2 separate regions of the Homo sapiens genome follow, and region 1 is linked to region 2. Evidence: promoter capture Hi-C in 16 types of primary human blood cells and fetal thymus (Javierre and others, 2016). All regions are on one chromosome and are shown on one strand. Each heading gives the region's core, a stretch centred on a gene start or on the middle of the fragment in contact. The rest is flanking DNA. Distances are from core to core; before and after follow the strand shown.

What was found. Contacts are between HindIII fragments. The CHiCAGO score rates a contact against its expected background, and 5 or more counts as called.
Region 1: a fragment that was not itself captured here is called in contact with the fragment with the promoter of MGP in region 2 in 1 of 17 cell types (total CD8 T cells); the score reaches 5.2 in total CD8 T cells.

What each region holds. Positions count from the first base shown.
Region 1 is chr12:15,892,965-15,899,768 of GRCh38, forward strand. It overlaps STRAP (serine/threonine kinase receptor associated protein), which reads left to right. Exons shown (of 10, transcript NM_007178.4): 5 at 1,083-1,179; 6 at 2,395-2,532; 7 at 4,918-5,054. Among named protein-coding and RNA genes, the nearest start is that of STRAP, 14 kb to the left of the region's middle. The HindIII fragment of the contact is 692 bases long and covers 5,181-5,872 here.
Region 2 is chr12:14,880,643-14,887,716 of GRCh38, forward strand. It overlaps MGP (matrix Gla protein), which reads right to left and starts at 5,212. Exons shown (of 4, transcript NM_000900.5): 1 at 5,089-5,212; 2 at 3,571-3,603; 3 at 2,330-2,405; 4 at 222-1,638. The coding sequence starts at 5,149. The coding sequence ends at 1,497. RefSeq lists an enhancer at 100-1,299. The HindIII fragment of the contact is 4,253 bases long and covers 4,499-7,074 here.

The DNA.
Region 1 (6,804 bases), core at 4,277-6,776, 1.0 Mb after region 2:
TCGGGTATCTGTTAAGCCCTATTCGCATTTGTAACCATTGTTATCTCATTTTACAGATGAGGAAATAAAGTTAAAAAGTTAAGTAACATGCCCAAAGGTGAAAATAGTGTTGAATGGCATTGCCTCCAGTGTCTGCTTTTGCCCCTAGAGACAGCAGTGAGGGTTTTTTGAAGTTCTTCGAAAGGATAATCTCCTACAGATTTAAGCTCCCTTCCTTTTTTTTTATGTTTTCCTCACAGTGTAGAAACATTCTTGGGAATTGCTGTCCCACTTTCTATTTCCCTTTTTTCCTTCCAACCCTTATTTCTCATTATTTACTATCAATAGCTGCTTGGATAAACGTCCCAGAGTTAGCCATAGTACTGCAATCAGATTCAACTGTTTTGTTCCTGAGTCCGTGTTCTTATTAAATTATGCCACGTTAATTATTTTATTAATAATATAATAAATACTTTTTATTATATATAAAATACTTTTTATTTATTATACATATAATAAATATATACTTTTTATTATATATAAAATTCTTTTTATTATACATATAATAAATATATACTTTTTATTTATTATACAATAATGCTTTTATATTTATTATACTTATACAATTATACAATAATGCTTTTATATTATACAATAATATTTGTATTATTGTACAAATAAATATTGTATATTATACAATAATGCTTTTATATTTATTATACTTATACAATTATACAATAATGCTTTTATATTTATTATACATATAATAAATATAAAATACTTTTTATTTATTATACAATAATGCTTTTGAATATTATCAGTTGTGCAGAAATTTAGCCTAGAGGGAGTGAGTGGTGCATTCACTCAGCTACATATAGCAAGCATGGTAGTTCCTTGGGTCCCTGTCATGCAGATAAATTTATGTTCCAATATAGAAAAACTAACTGTATTCTATATAAACATCAAGTTTGAATTGGGCTGGGCTTTGAAAAGTTGCAGTCTAATTTAAAATGTGTGTTTTTAAAAATATATAATTGTTCCGATATTGTTCAGTTTAAAAAATCATATATTAACAAATGTACTTTAAATTGTTTTATCTCAAGAACCTAAGGAAATTAGTGGTCATACTTCTGGTATAAAAAAAGCTCTGTGGTGCAGTGAGGATAAACAGATTCTTTCTGCTGATGACAAAACTGTTCGGTAAGTAATTTTTCTTTAATAATTTACAATTTAAGGCCGGGCATGGTGGCTCACGCCTATAATCTCAGCACTTTGGGAGGCGAGCCGGGTGGATCATTAGAGGTCAGGAGTACTAGACCAGCCTGGCCGACATGGCGAAATACTGTCTCTATGAAAATTACAAAACTTAGCCAAGCGCGGTGGCACACACCTATAATCCCAGCTACTCGGGAGGCCGAGGCAGGAGAATCACTTGAACCTGCGAGGCAGAGGTTGCGGTGAGTCGAGATCGTGCCATTGCACTCTAGCCTGGGCGACAGAGCTAGACTGTCTCAAAAGAAAAACAAACTTAAAATTTGCAAAATATTTTACCTTAGAGCTTATATTTTAAATACATTTAATATTATGTGTGAAAAATGTTCTGAACATTAAAATTTAAGTTGCACCCAGGTCACATTTATCTGGAGCTATCTATTTACTAATACAGGTTGAGTATCCCTAACCTGAAAATCTGAAATTTGAAACGCTCTGAAATCTGAGACTTTGAGTGCCGACTTGATGCTTAAAGGAAATGCTCATTGGAGCATTTTGAATTTCCTATTTTCAGGTTAGGAATTCTCAGTTGGTAAGTGTCTAATGCAAATATTCCAAAATCCGAAAAAGTTTGAAATCCAACTTTTTTCTGGTCCCAAGTATTTTCAATTAAGGGATGCTCACCTTGTGTATACAGACAGCAAAATTCAGAAGAAAATTAAATTGCTGATACCTTATAAGCAGGTGTTTTTAACCTGGGTCTGTGGGCAGAATGGTTAAAGGGAGGGACCATGAAGCCTCTGAAATTCTATACAAAATCTTGTGTGCTGACACCTGATGTATATTTCTTTGGAAAGATGTGTAGCTATTACTAGATTCACAAAAACAGAGTGTAAGAACCACTATTTATAGCAATGCTGAAATTGACTAGATTAGAACTTGTCTTAATAATGTAGTTTTGCCAAATTGGGAAGTGTATGTAGGTATTAAAGTTGATTTTACTTACAAGCTATCATGCATAATTTGACATTGTATATAGAAACCCAGAATTTTTTTTAATCATCTGTAATTTGTGACTTGGAATGAATGTTGTTTTTCTGTAATTGTGATTGTTCTTTCGTTGGCTAATCTGCAGATGTAATTAGAATTTATAAACTTTTTTCTTACATGAGTAAACATCATATTTTTATCTTTATTTTGCAGACTTTGGGATCATGCTACTATGACAGAAGTGAAATCTCTAAATTTTAATATGTCTGTTAGTAGTATGGAATATATTCCTGAGGGAGAGATTTTGGTTATAACTTATGGACGATCTATTGCTTTTCATAGTGCAGTAAGGTATGTCCAAGAAATACTTTCATTTTCTTTTTTAGGTAACAAAAGACATTTTGGCTACTTAAAAATGGGAAGGTATTTACTTTTTTTAAAAGTAAAGAGGCCAGGAGTGGTGGCTTATGCCTATAATCGCAGTACCTTGGGAAGCTGAGGTGGGAGGATGGCTTGAGATCAGCCTGGGCAACACAGTGAGACCCCCATCTCTACAAAAAATAAAATTAGCTGGGTGTGGTGGCACACGCCTGTAGTCCAGCTGCTTGGGAGGCTGAGGTGAGTATTCTATTGCTGGAGCCTGGGAGGTTGAGGCTGCATTTTGCTGTGATCTTGACACTGCACTCCAGTCTGGATGACAAAGCAAAACCTCCTCTGAAAAAAAAAAAAAAAAAAAAGCAAAAACTACTGAAATGGTGCTGTCATTAATGTTTTTTACTATATAAAACCAGTGTGGGCTGGGCGTGGTGGCTCACGTCTGTAATCCTAGCACCTTGGGAGGCTGAGGTGGGCGGACCACTTGAGGTTAGGGGATTGAGACCAGCCTGGCCAACATGGTGAAACCCCGTCTCTAAAATAAAAATACAAAGAGAAGAAAAATTAGCTGGGTGTGGTGGTGAGTACCTGTAATCCCAGCTACTTGGGAGGCTGAGGCAGGAGAATTGCTTAATCCCAGGAGGTGGAGGTTGTTTTGAGCTGTGGTCACACCACTGCATTCCAGCCTGGGTAACAGAGTGAGACTCTGTCTCAAAAAAAACAAAAAACAAAAAAACAGTGTGATCTTGATTCTACTATTTATTTTCACCTTAAAGTTTTAGAGAAGGAATAATCTTATTTCTGTTCCTGAGTATTTGCAGACTTAATGAATTTTTTAAACAGATTTGAATTTTGCGACTTTAAATGTAGTAAATACTCTTGGAGAAAGACTGGAATATATAACATAATTGAAAAAAATGTACCCACAATATTATACCCATAGGTGCAAGAGTGATAATGGTAGTTATATTTTCTGCTAGTCCATTTTTCTATGTTATATATGTGGGTGTACAGTATTTGTGTTTTTTTTTTTAATTACTAGGACCATAATGAATACCATTTTGATTTGTTTAAAAATATTGTTAGCCATTTAAAACTTCTTTGAAAACATTTTTACTTGATACACTGTATTTGCATCATAGGTTGTACTAAATTATGGGTTAGTTTCCCTGTTTTAGCACCACGGTGAATGTTCTAGCACATCTCTGAGTGTTTCTTTACAGTAGATAGGATCCTGTAAGTAGAATTATCAGTTCAAAGGCTAGAAATGAGTTTAAAGTTCTTAGTTATACATGACACTTAATTGATTTCCATAAGGATTATACCACATTACACTTTGATATTTGACCAGTGTCTTAACCTTGTGTCTAAAGGGCTAACTGGGAGAAAGAAAAGGCGGTAAAATTGGAGGAGAGCAATTAAGCAATGTCAAGGAGTTTATACACATACAGTAAACTGATAGTAGTAGAATACTATGGCCTGGAGCCATCAATTGGTTTATTAATGCTCTTCACTCACTCCTGCAGTTAGGCAAATCCCATGTTGGTGGCAGAAATTTTCTGGACCATTGAATATTCTAGCATTTGAGCCAGCAAGTTGCTATGTAGTGATCCTGCATAAGTCATGACTAACTTTAATTAACATGCTTTAAAGTATATGATGATGGGAAGTATTTAGGAGCTGGGATACTATAATGTTTTGTATTGGAGGCCTTTCATGATTTTTAGGGTTAAACTGAAAAAGCTAATGTCCAAACTGTAATTGAATTTCAGATGAAGCTGTTATTATGCATTGATTTTTATTATATAACTATAGCCCCAAATTTTGTTAGTCTTTTACTGCCTTATAGTAGAAACTGTTTTCAGCAGTTTATATTTTATGACATAGAAAGTTTATCTTGCTGAGGAGCTTAAACCTTCAGCAATTAATAATAATATATAAATAATCCTTTATGTTAATTACCTACTGTGAAAACTTTTTCTGTTTACAAAGATAATATGTGGTTGTAGAAAAATGAAACAATACAGGTGAAGTTTATTTAAGAGCAAAAATCCCAGTGTATTATTCATACTGTTTTAATTAGCCAACACACTCATTTCCGGGAAGACATCCACTGCATAAACTGGATATCCCTCCATCAAGATGTCTTTGTATTGCTGAGATGAGCTCCACTTGGGCATAGTATCCATTTGATTTTTTTTTTTTTTTTTTTGCTAACAGCTTTTTTTACATCAGTGTTTATGTTTGAGTAAATGAGTATTTAATTGTTCCTTGGGTTTCAGAATTTAAGAACAGTTCAAATGTAACTCGTTATTTATACCATATTCAAGATTTGTAAATACTACTTAAATTTTTTTTCAGTTTGGACCCAATTAAATCCTTTGAAGCTCCTGCAACCATCAATTCTGCATCTCTTCATCCTGAGAAAGAATTTCTTGTTGCAGGCGGTGAAGATTTTAAACTTTATAAGTATGATTATAATAGTGGAGAAGAATTAGGTGAGTTGTCCCCTTACAGTGATGTGGTTACCTTTATCATATGTTAAGTCCCAGTAATTAACACCTCATTTATATATATATATATGTTACATATATATGTTGAAAGTAAATTTTTCAGCTAACTTAAGCTTGGTGCTTACAAGTGAAAAAGTAAAGGAGTTTTAACCATTTGGGTCAGATGCTTTTATAGATCTGTAAACAAAGTATGCAGAAATTTATCCTTTTAACTAAAGTTCATCATTATGCTGATGTTATGTATTATGGTACAGTGAGTTTTAGGCTTTATTGGCTGGGAGGGAGGGGGGAATCTTATGTCAAAGTCATATGCTAAACACATGCAAGGAGATCCGTTCTTTCTGAACTATGTTGTGGGTGTATAACCCCATCTACTTGGCCCGTCTTCCTTTTTGCCAACTTAGGAATTCCTAAGACTCCGTAAAGAACAGTGTGTGGGGGAAAAATCAGTATAGCATATTACAGGGATACCTTTAGGAATCTGAATTGGATAGTTATTTTTATCAGCTTTTTATTTATTCTGTTTTGGAGTTTGAGTTTTGCTTTCATTTTCATGATAACAGTCCTTAGTAAGGGAAAGGGAAAGGCATGGGGATTAATTTGAAGTTAATGTATATTTATCTGATGGACCAGGTATTTCACATAGTTACATGTGGTTCTCAGTATCTACTTTTAGCCTTTCCAAATAGTTTTTGCTTTTAGGTCAAAAATATGTTTAGTTTTTATAAATATATATTTTTATCTATAAGCTGTCTCTTCTTGTTCTTGTCTGTTTCTAGCTGCCCTGCTTTACCAAAGAACGAAGCTTGCTAGATTACACCCAAAGAACAAAAGACAATTTTACGTTTTGTTTCTTGGGGAACATTGATGCATCTGGGTTGCACAAATGGAACCTTGGTGATGGACCATGTAGAATCTATTTTAATTGCTTATGGTTCAGTTTTTATTACTTGAATACAAGTGATTTATAAATAAGATATTCTTTTCTGTTACTTTTATTTAATGCTAGTTTTCAAAGTTTTAGAATGTTTTTGGTTTCATATTTTATTCTTTTTCAAGATTGAGAGAACTGAATTATTTGCCCAAGATCTGAAGTCACAGTGAATACCAGATCTGCCTAGCCTTTCTCTTTCCAAAACCTTGTGTTCTTTGTACTCTTACAACTTTTCTATTCTCTGGTGGGACACAGATGGGAGACAGAATAGGAACATTGGTCTAGTAAAGGGCTTTGAGAACTAATAAGGTGATGAGGCATTAGAAAGTAAATGAGAAAGGTTCATACTTAAAGGTACTACTTGAATATAACAGTGCTCCTAATCTATACATTTTCTCATTAGGTTCCATGGATTAAAATATTTATGGATCATTGTTGATCTATATCTCACCTTTCTGTGTGACAGAATAATTAGTGGACTGTAGGAAATTAAGAGGCAAAGTGTGTAAAAGAGCTCCACCTGGTGGCTCTCTATAGTCATAATAAAAATTGATTCCCTGAGAAATAGGCAGTGAGTTTTAGGATATGGAAATTGGAGGTTGAACTGGTAAGACTTTAAATCTACTTTCTATAGAATTAATGGGGTTTTCATTTACCTCTTTTTCTCCATCCTTAATGAGACATGAAGCCTCATTTGCTTTTTTTAGAGGGACAGTTTGAAACTAGAATGTGTGCTAGATTTGGAAAGGAATAATCTTACAGAGAAAGGGTCAATGATATACCACTTTTGTGATGAGAAAT
Region 2 (7,074 bases), core at 3,962-6,461:
TACTTCAAGTGGTCAAATGTGCATGTCATTGGACCCTCTAAAGGAGAGGAGGAGTGAGGGATCAAAGTATCTGAAAAAATAATGGCTGAAAATTTTTCTAATTTTATGCAATCCAAGAAGGTCAATAAGCCTCAAGAACAAGAAAAATAAGAAAAATCAAATCAAGATAGGTCTGAATCAATTTGGTCAAAAGCACTAATAAAGATAAAAATGTTAGAAGCAGCCAGAGATAAAAGATGCAGTATACACAGTGGAACAAAGGTAAGAATTACAACAAATTTTATATCGAAAAATTGTGCAAGCTAGAATTCAGTGGAATACCTTAAAATAATTAAAAGAAACGTGGCAACTTGGGATTCAATATACAGTGAAAATATCTTTCAAGAATAAAAACAAGCATACAAAACTTAAAGAATCCTGCAGACCTGAACTATAAAAAACGTTAAAGGAAGTCGTCAGGCAGAAAGGAAGTGACACCAGATGGAAAGAAGAATGAAGAAAACAGGAAATGAAAATTACATGGGTAAATATATGAGATCTTTTCTTTCTTTTCTTTTTTATTTTTCTGTAGAGACAGAGTCTCACTCTGTTTCACAGGCTGGAGTGCATTGGTATGGTCATGGCTACTGAGATTACAGGTGTGGCCACTGTGCCTGGCCCGGGATATTTTCTTATTATCTAAACTTTAAAAGAAATTATTAAAATTATTTAAAGCAAGAATAGTAAAAATGTAGCGTGGAACCTTTAACAAATGTAGAAGTAAAAATATAACATAAGTAGAAGTAAAAAATAATTGGATTGTTTAGACTATTTACATATAATGTGATTATTGATATAGTTAAGTGTATAAACTATTATTGACAGTTTTTGCCAATTGCTTTTATTTGTCCCTTCTGCTTTCTCTTTTCCTTTTCCTCCTTTTTTCTCTTCTAGATTATCTTGATTCAGAAATGTTTTTGACTTTGATGCATAAGAGATGAAAAGCAAATGAAGGGAGCCCTGTATTTGCCACAATTTACAATAGGAAAATCCTGCAAAAAACATACCAGATTCCATTCACGGATTCCAAGGTAGAGAGGGTTTAGAGAATTTATGGCTGAGTGAGTGCCTTCTTAGCTTCCTTCTTTTTATGTAGTTATTTTTCTAATTAATACTAGATATGAGATGAACAGAATCTCCTATTTTGGGTAAGGTGGGCCATGATTTAAATATCTCAATATCTTCCCAAAAGAAAGCAGATTTACAAGATGAAAGTATCACACCAGAAGTTTATTATGGAACAATCACATATGTTGACTCTCCTTTGACCCTCACTGCAGTGCACTTTCATTACTTATCAATCTGGGGGCGGGAAAAAGGGGTGCAGCCAGACAAGAGAATATACAGGAAAGAAGCATTGTATATAAGCCTATGTATTTCTGTAATGCTGCTACAGGGGGATACAAAATCAGGTGCCAGCCTCCAGAAAAAAAGAGATTTTTTTTCTTCCCTCAGTCTCATTTGGTCCCTCGGCGCTTCCTGAAGTAGCGATTATAGGCAGCATTGTATCCATAAACCATGGCGTAGCGTTCGCAAAGTCTGTAGTCATCACAGGCTTCCCTATTGAGCTCGTGGACAGGCTTAGAGCGTTCTCGGATCCTAGAAAGTGGAAGAAGAGGCCAAAATTGAGAAGGATAAAGTGGAAAAATACAAAAATGGAAAAGAAGAAGAAAATATTGGAGAGACTTTCTCTCCATGCCCCCCTATATTAAGAGATATTTAAAGAACAGGGAGAGGCTGGGTGCGGTGGCTCAGGCCTGTAATCCCAGCACTTTGGGAGGCTGAGGTGGGTGGATCACTTGAGGTCAGGAGTTCAAGACTAGCCTGGCCAACATGACAAAACCCCGTCTCTACAAAAAATGCAAAAATAGCTGGACATGGTAGCACGTGCCTGTAATCCCAGCTACTTGGGAGGCTGAGGCACGAGATAGTGCCACTATAATCCAGTCTGGGCAACAGAGTGAGACTCTGTCTCAGAAAAACCAACCAACCAACCAAAAAAAAAACCAGGGAGGGAAGGCAGAACAGGAGATTTTTTTTTTTTTTTTAATGAAAATAGAAGTTTTCTTTCTGTCCTCCTTTCTCTCCTCCTTCCTTCTCCTTTCCGGATCTTTCCCCAAATAATTTTCTAATAATTCAGTTGTTTTCTGAATATTGCTTTTAAGTTTTTTGATTTTAAAGATACAATTAGAAATAATGTATATGATGAAAAAGCTGTTTCCCACTCCAATTCAGATCTGTGATCTACACTGGGAAAAATGACCACTCCTCATGAAGTTTTGTTACTGACCTCTCTTGGACTTTAGCTCTCCATCTCTGCTGAGGGGATATGAAGGTATTTGCATTTCTCCTGTTAATGAAGGGATCTTAGAACAGAAAATAAATAAATGCAGTTTTAGCGACACATAGCTGGAAATATTTCCGTGAATATTCCTTGACACAAATATATTTGAAAGTGCCTTAACTTATGCAACTCATATAAACGGAGATTGGCAAAAATTAAAGGAGAGTATAAAGTAGATTTCATTAACTTCCTGATCAAATGAAATCAGTAATCAATCCATGTGTCTTAGAGACTTGTCATATAGGCTTTGTTGGTTTTGAGTTTGGACGATCACTTTGCCTTTCTTAATTTCTGTATTTCTACTTGGTAGATTTTAAATTCCTTTTGAGGAGAAATTCTCTGTCCTGAGGATTTATGAAGCATAACTAGATTGCCGATACATGAACAGTTTAAACACTATAAAAATAATGAATAAATTAAAAATGAGAGTGATGTGCCATTTCCTCCTATGCTCAGTCTTTATAAATCCAGCTATTCAACAGCAATCAGCTGGCTGGGTGTGGTGGCTCATGCCTGTAATCCCGGCACTTTGGGAGGCTGTGGTGGGTGGATCACTTGAGGCCAGGAGTTCGAGACCAGCCTGGACAACATGGTGAAACCCCATCTCTACTAAAAATACAAAAATTAGCCAGGCATGATGTCATGGGCCTGTAATCCCAGCTACTCAGGAGGCTGAGGCATGAGAATTGCCTGAACCTGGGAGGTGGAGGTTGCGGCGAGCCGAGATCACACCACTGCACTCTAGCCTGGGCGACAGAGTGAGACACTGTCTCAAAAAAAAAAACAAGAAAGAAAAACACAAAAAAACCAAAACAGCACTCAGCTTAACGTGGCGCCTGTGGTCTCCCAGCTGACTTGGCGTCCAGCTCTGTGCTTTACCATTTGTCATTACTCCTCGTTTTCCATCTGTGCAGTTGACGTGGTGCCAATTTAAAATTTCCAAATGAGATTTTATGGCTTCTAAATATGTCGCCTGTAGCTTAAATCCCATATTGCACTACTTCAAACTTAAAAAATTGCTCCTTTGGCAATTTTTATAGTCATTAGATTTAAAAATTTACTTTAGTTTTCCAAAAGAGGCCCCCTTTTCCCTCCCTGTTATATATCTTTCCATCTTGTTTATTTAAAAATAAGAAGAGGTTCTTTAATGCAAGGGATTTGAATAAAGAAGTTAAATATTCACTTACTAAGTTCATAAGATTCCATGCTTTCATGTGATTCTGAAATTAAAAAAAAAAGATTCATTATATCAATATTTATCCATGATTCATTATGTTATTATTTATCAATTTAGACACTGTGATAGTTTAAATACAGGGATGGAAGAAGAGGAAAGAGTCTAAAAACATGAAGAATATATTTAGCAGTGTGGTTATTAGAAATTTCAGGAATTTAGGATTTATGAGGTTTTTCTCTAGCTCTGGCCTTGCTGTGGATATCTCTATATTTTAGTTTCTCTGATGTTGAAGGAGGGAGTGGCCATTTTCAGCTAAAATTTCCCAAGGGCTATGACGTCTTCAGACAAGCAAAATAAGACACTTTAAGTGCTGTACAGAAGTCTCCAGAGAACCTTCTTCTCTGATTTATTCAGAGCCTGTTTGAGAACAGGGTCAAAGAGGATTAAGAAGGATCCAGAAGACAGCCAGGTTTCTCCAGGCAAGAGAACTACAGGGCAGTTGCTCTGCTGGGCTTACTAGGGCAGGTTTCTAAGAGGGTTCCGAAAGCCTCTTAAGAACCTGTGTTAAATTGGCAGCCACAGAAACCACTAGCTCCAGCTGACAGCTCACCCTGGGCACGATGCCAGTTCAGAGAGAGAACTGAAACGATATCAAAGCCGAAGTTTTCTTCTTTCTGCCACTCTCCTGAGCACAGCAGATAAATTTTGGAATAAGAAGCTTCTATTAATATTTGCCAGCAAGTGAATTTTCTTCAAAACTTAAAAAGGAGGTGAAGAAATCAAATCCTCTAATACAGAAAATTTGTGAATACAAGAGTGAGAAGCATAATCTTTATGGTTGTTAATGTAATTTAAATTTTAAAACAATGAAAATATCTAGGTAATTGAAACAAAAGACTGAAATAAGTAAATAACTTTGCTTCAGATTTCCTTTTATAAGCTTTGAACAAATGCAGGTATATTTAATGACATATAGAAAACAGGCAAAATTTATTTTCTGACAACAGGAGTTATGAAAATGATTCTTTTCTAAAATTCTTTTGATGTAAAACTTTATTTTAAAATTAATTAACTGAACAAACATAGTAAGTTCATGAGATTGTCCAGTCCCTAGAAAGGGCTATACTTAATACTTCACATAAAAATGGATTTTCTCAAAGGCAAGTGGTTTAAACAATACCCTTAACCCATTGATACCAAAGTCTAAATAAATATCCTTAAAAATGAGGATGCAGGGGGCTGGGAATTTGGTATCTTCTTTCTGAAATATGAGTTTCTAGATATACAGAGACTTACCACTGAACGGGTTTGCCTGTTAAGTTGCATAAGACTCTGGATATTTAGGATATAAAAAAGACTTAATAGAACAGATCAGTTTCTGCGGAGACTGGGAAATGTGAAAGTAATGGTACTTTAAGATTATAACAGAGAAAGGGGGAAGAAGAGGAGGAGGGAGAGGAAAAATAGAAGTAAGCCAAAGTCAGAGGCAGAAAAGTAAACACAGAGAAATGGGAGAAAAGTTTCTCACCATAACACAAAGTTACTACCGCTAAGGCGGCCAGGATGGCAAGAAGGATCAGGCTCTTCATGGTTTCGTCCTGCAGGTCAGTCTCAGGGTCTTGTGTAGCAGCAGTAGGGAGAGAGGCTCCTACGGGATGTTAGTGGAAGGCTGTGAGGTTTTTATAAGAACCAGAGCAGTTGAGAGGGGAGGAACCAGTGGGAGAGAGCTGGAGAAGGTGGGGAAGGGTTGGCACTGAACTAGCATTGGAACTTTTCCCAAACAGTCATTCCTTCCAGATATTATCTACTCTGAGTGGGCAGTTTTCCCTAACTGCTGGACCTGACTGTGTTACACAGGATGCTGCTCTGGTGCAGAAGTTTTGGCCATCGTATGCTTGGGGACAGACCTGGGCAAAAGCCCACAGAGGAAGTTGCCACAAACACATGATCTACCCTCCTGGCCCTGACCGCAGGGCTTTTGGGTTTGGTCCACAGACAGAGCCCTAGTGTTCTGTTTGTTACCCTGATTGATTGATGAGAGGTTTTGGGGGAGAAAGGACTTCACTTTCTTTTCTTTTCTTCTTTTTAACCTTTGCCTCTTCTTCTAGGAGAACTTCGCTTTCTACACTGATTATAATTTAGACATCTTCCCAGTAGGGCTGAATCCTAGACCAATCTATCAATCCCAGACTAATCAGGCATTTGCCTGGGGATATGCATCTTTGGCATTTTTCCAAGGGTTCATCAGGATGGAGATATCCGGTGCACCATGAGTTCTGTTTCCTTAATCAACACCGTTGTAACTTGCCCATCCAGTTTTGTGACATTAATTCAAACCTGTGCCCTAGTCCTCTTTTAGGCAGCGTATCAGTGCTGGAAAGTGCAGCAAGGATAAGAGGGTACTGTTCTCTCATTTCTGAGGGCGTTGTCTCGATAATTAACTAACTTGATAGACTTTTTAGTGAGTGGCAGGTGAGATGCAAGGTACTGTGCTAGGTGCTGTGGGGGATGTACAGACAAACAACACACCTCCCTAAGGAGGTAAGTAATAGCTACTTACTATTCACTTTGCTCTTTCACTGTAATGTATCCTCAAGCACAGGTTTTCACTACACCATCAGGCCCAGAAGTACTAGCTTATTTTCCACAGGAGGATTTCAGTTTGATGCCTCTGGTTATCTTGTATAGAGAGGTCTTTTCTTTCTTTCTTTTTTTCCCCCTTCTTTTGCAATCACAAAATCTGTCCTACCAGATGTGCCTCTCTTGCTTGGGAACCCAATAGTTTTCTTTGCAGACAACAGACTTGAAGTCACAGAGCAGCAGATTGTAGAAGAGCTACAGCTTCGGGACCTCTGACTCTTGAGCTGGAACAGCAATAGGGCTGGGTTGGGGGTGGGGTGGATGTGTCTTTCAATACTGATGTATTTCAAGGAGCAGTGATGAACTAGGTGGAGCCTCATGCTTCATTCTTTTTGTCTTGTTGGGATGGAGTTTCCCTCCCACCCTCCATCCTGTGAAGAGCTTTTATAAATATTAACAGAGTCCCCATTAAAAGAAATAGCTCCTTTGAAATCTGAAAGATTGAGTTCTGAGGGATCAATAAAATTCAAGTTTTCTCTCCAAAACCTAAGAAATAGATTATCTGTGCGAAAATCTTAAAGAAAATCTCAGAAAGAAGACCGTGTATGTTCATCCTTGATAAATTCAACCATCACAATTTCCACTAATGAGACTGGCGGTTGTTCCACTCTTTAAACCACAACCTACTATGAGTGTTAGTTTCAGTGTCCATCTTGGAAGATGAATCATCTGAATCATTACATGATCAATGAATAATTTAAAGTGCGAAAGCCAGTTCACTATATTGCATGACTTTGGGGGGACAAGCTAGCCATAGATAAAAGTTTTATACGTACTTAGCTTAGTAATTAACCACCAATTAATATAACATCAAACAAGTTGAATTCCAATGTTTCACCCTTAAAATGAGTAGTCTACTCTCCCCATCCCCACT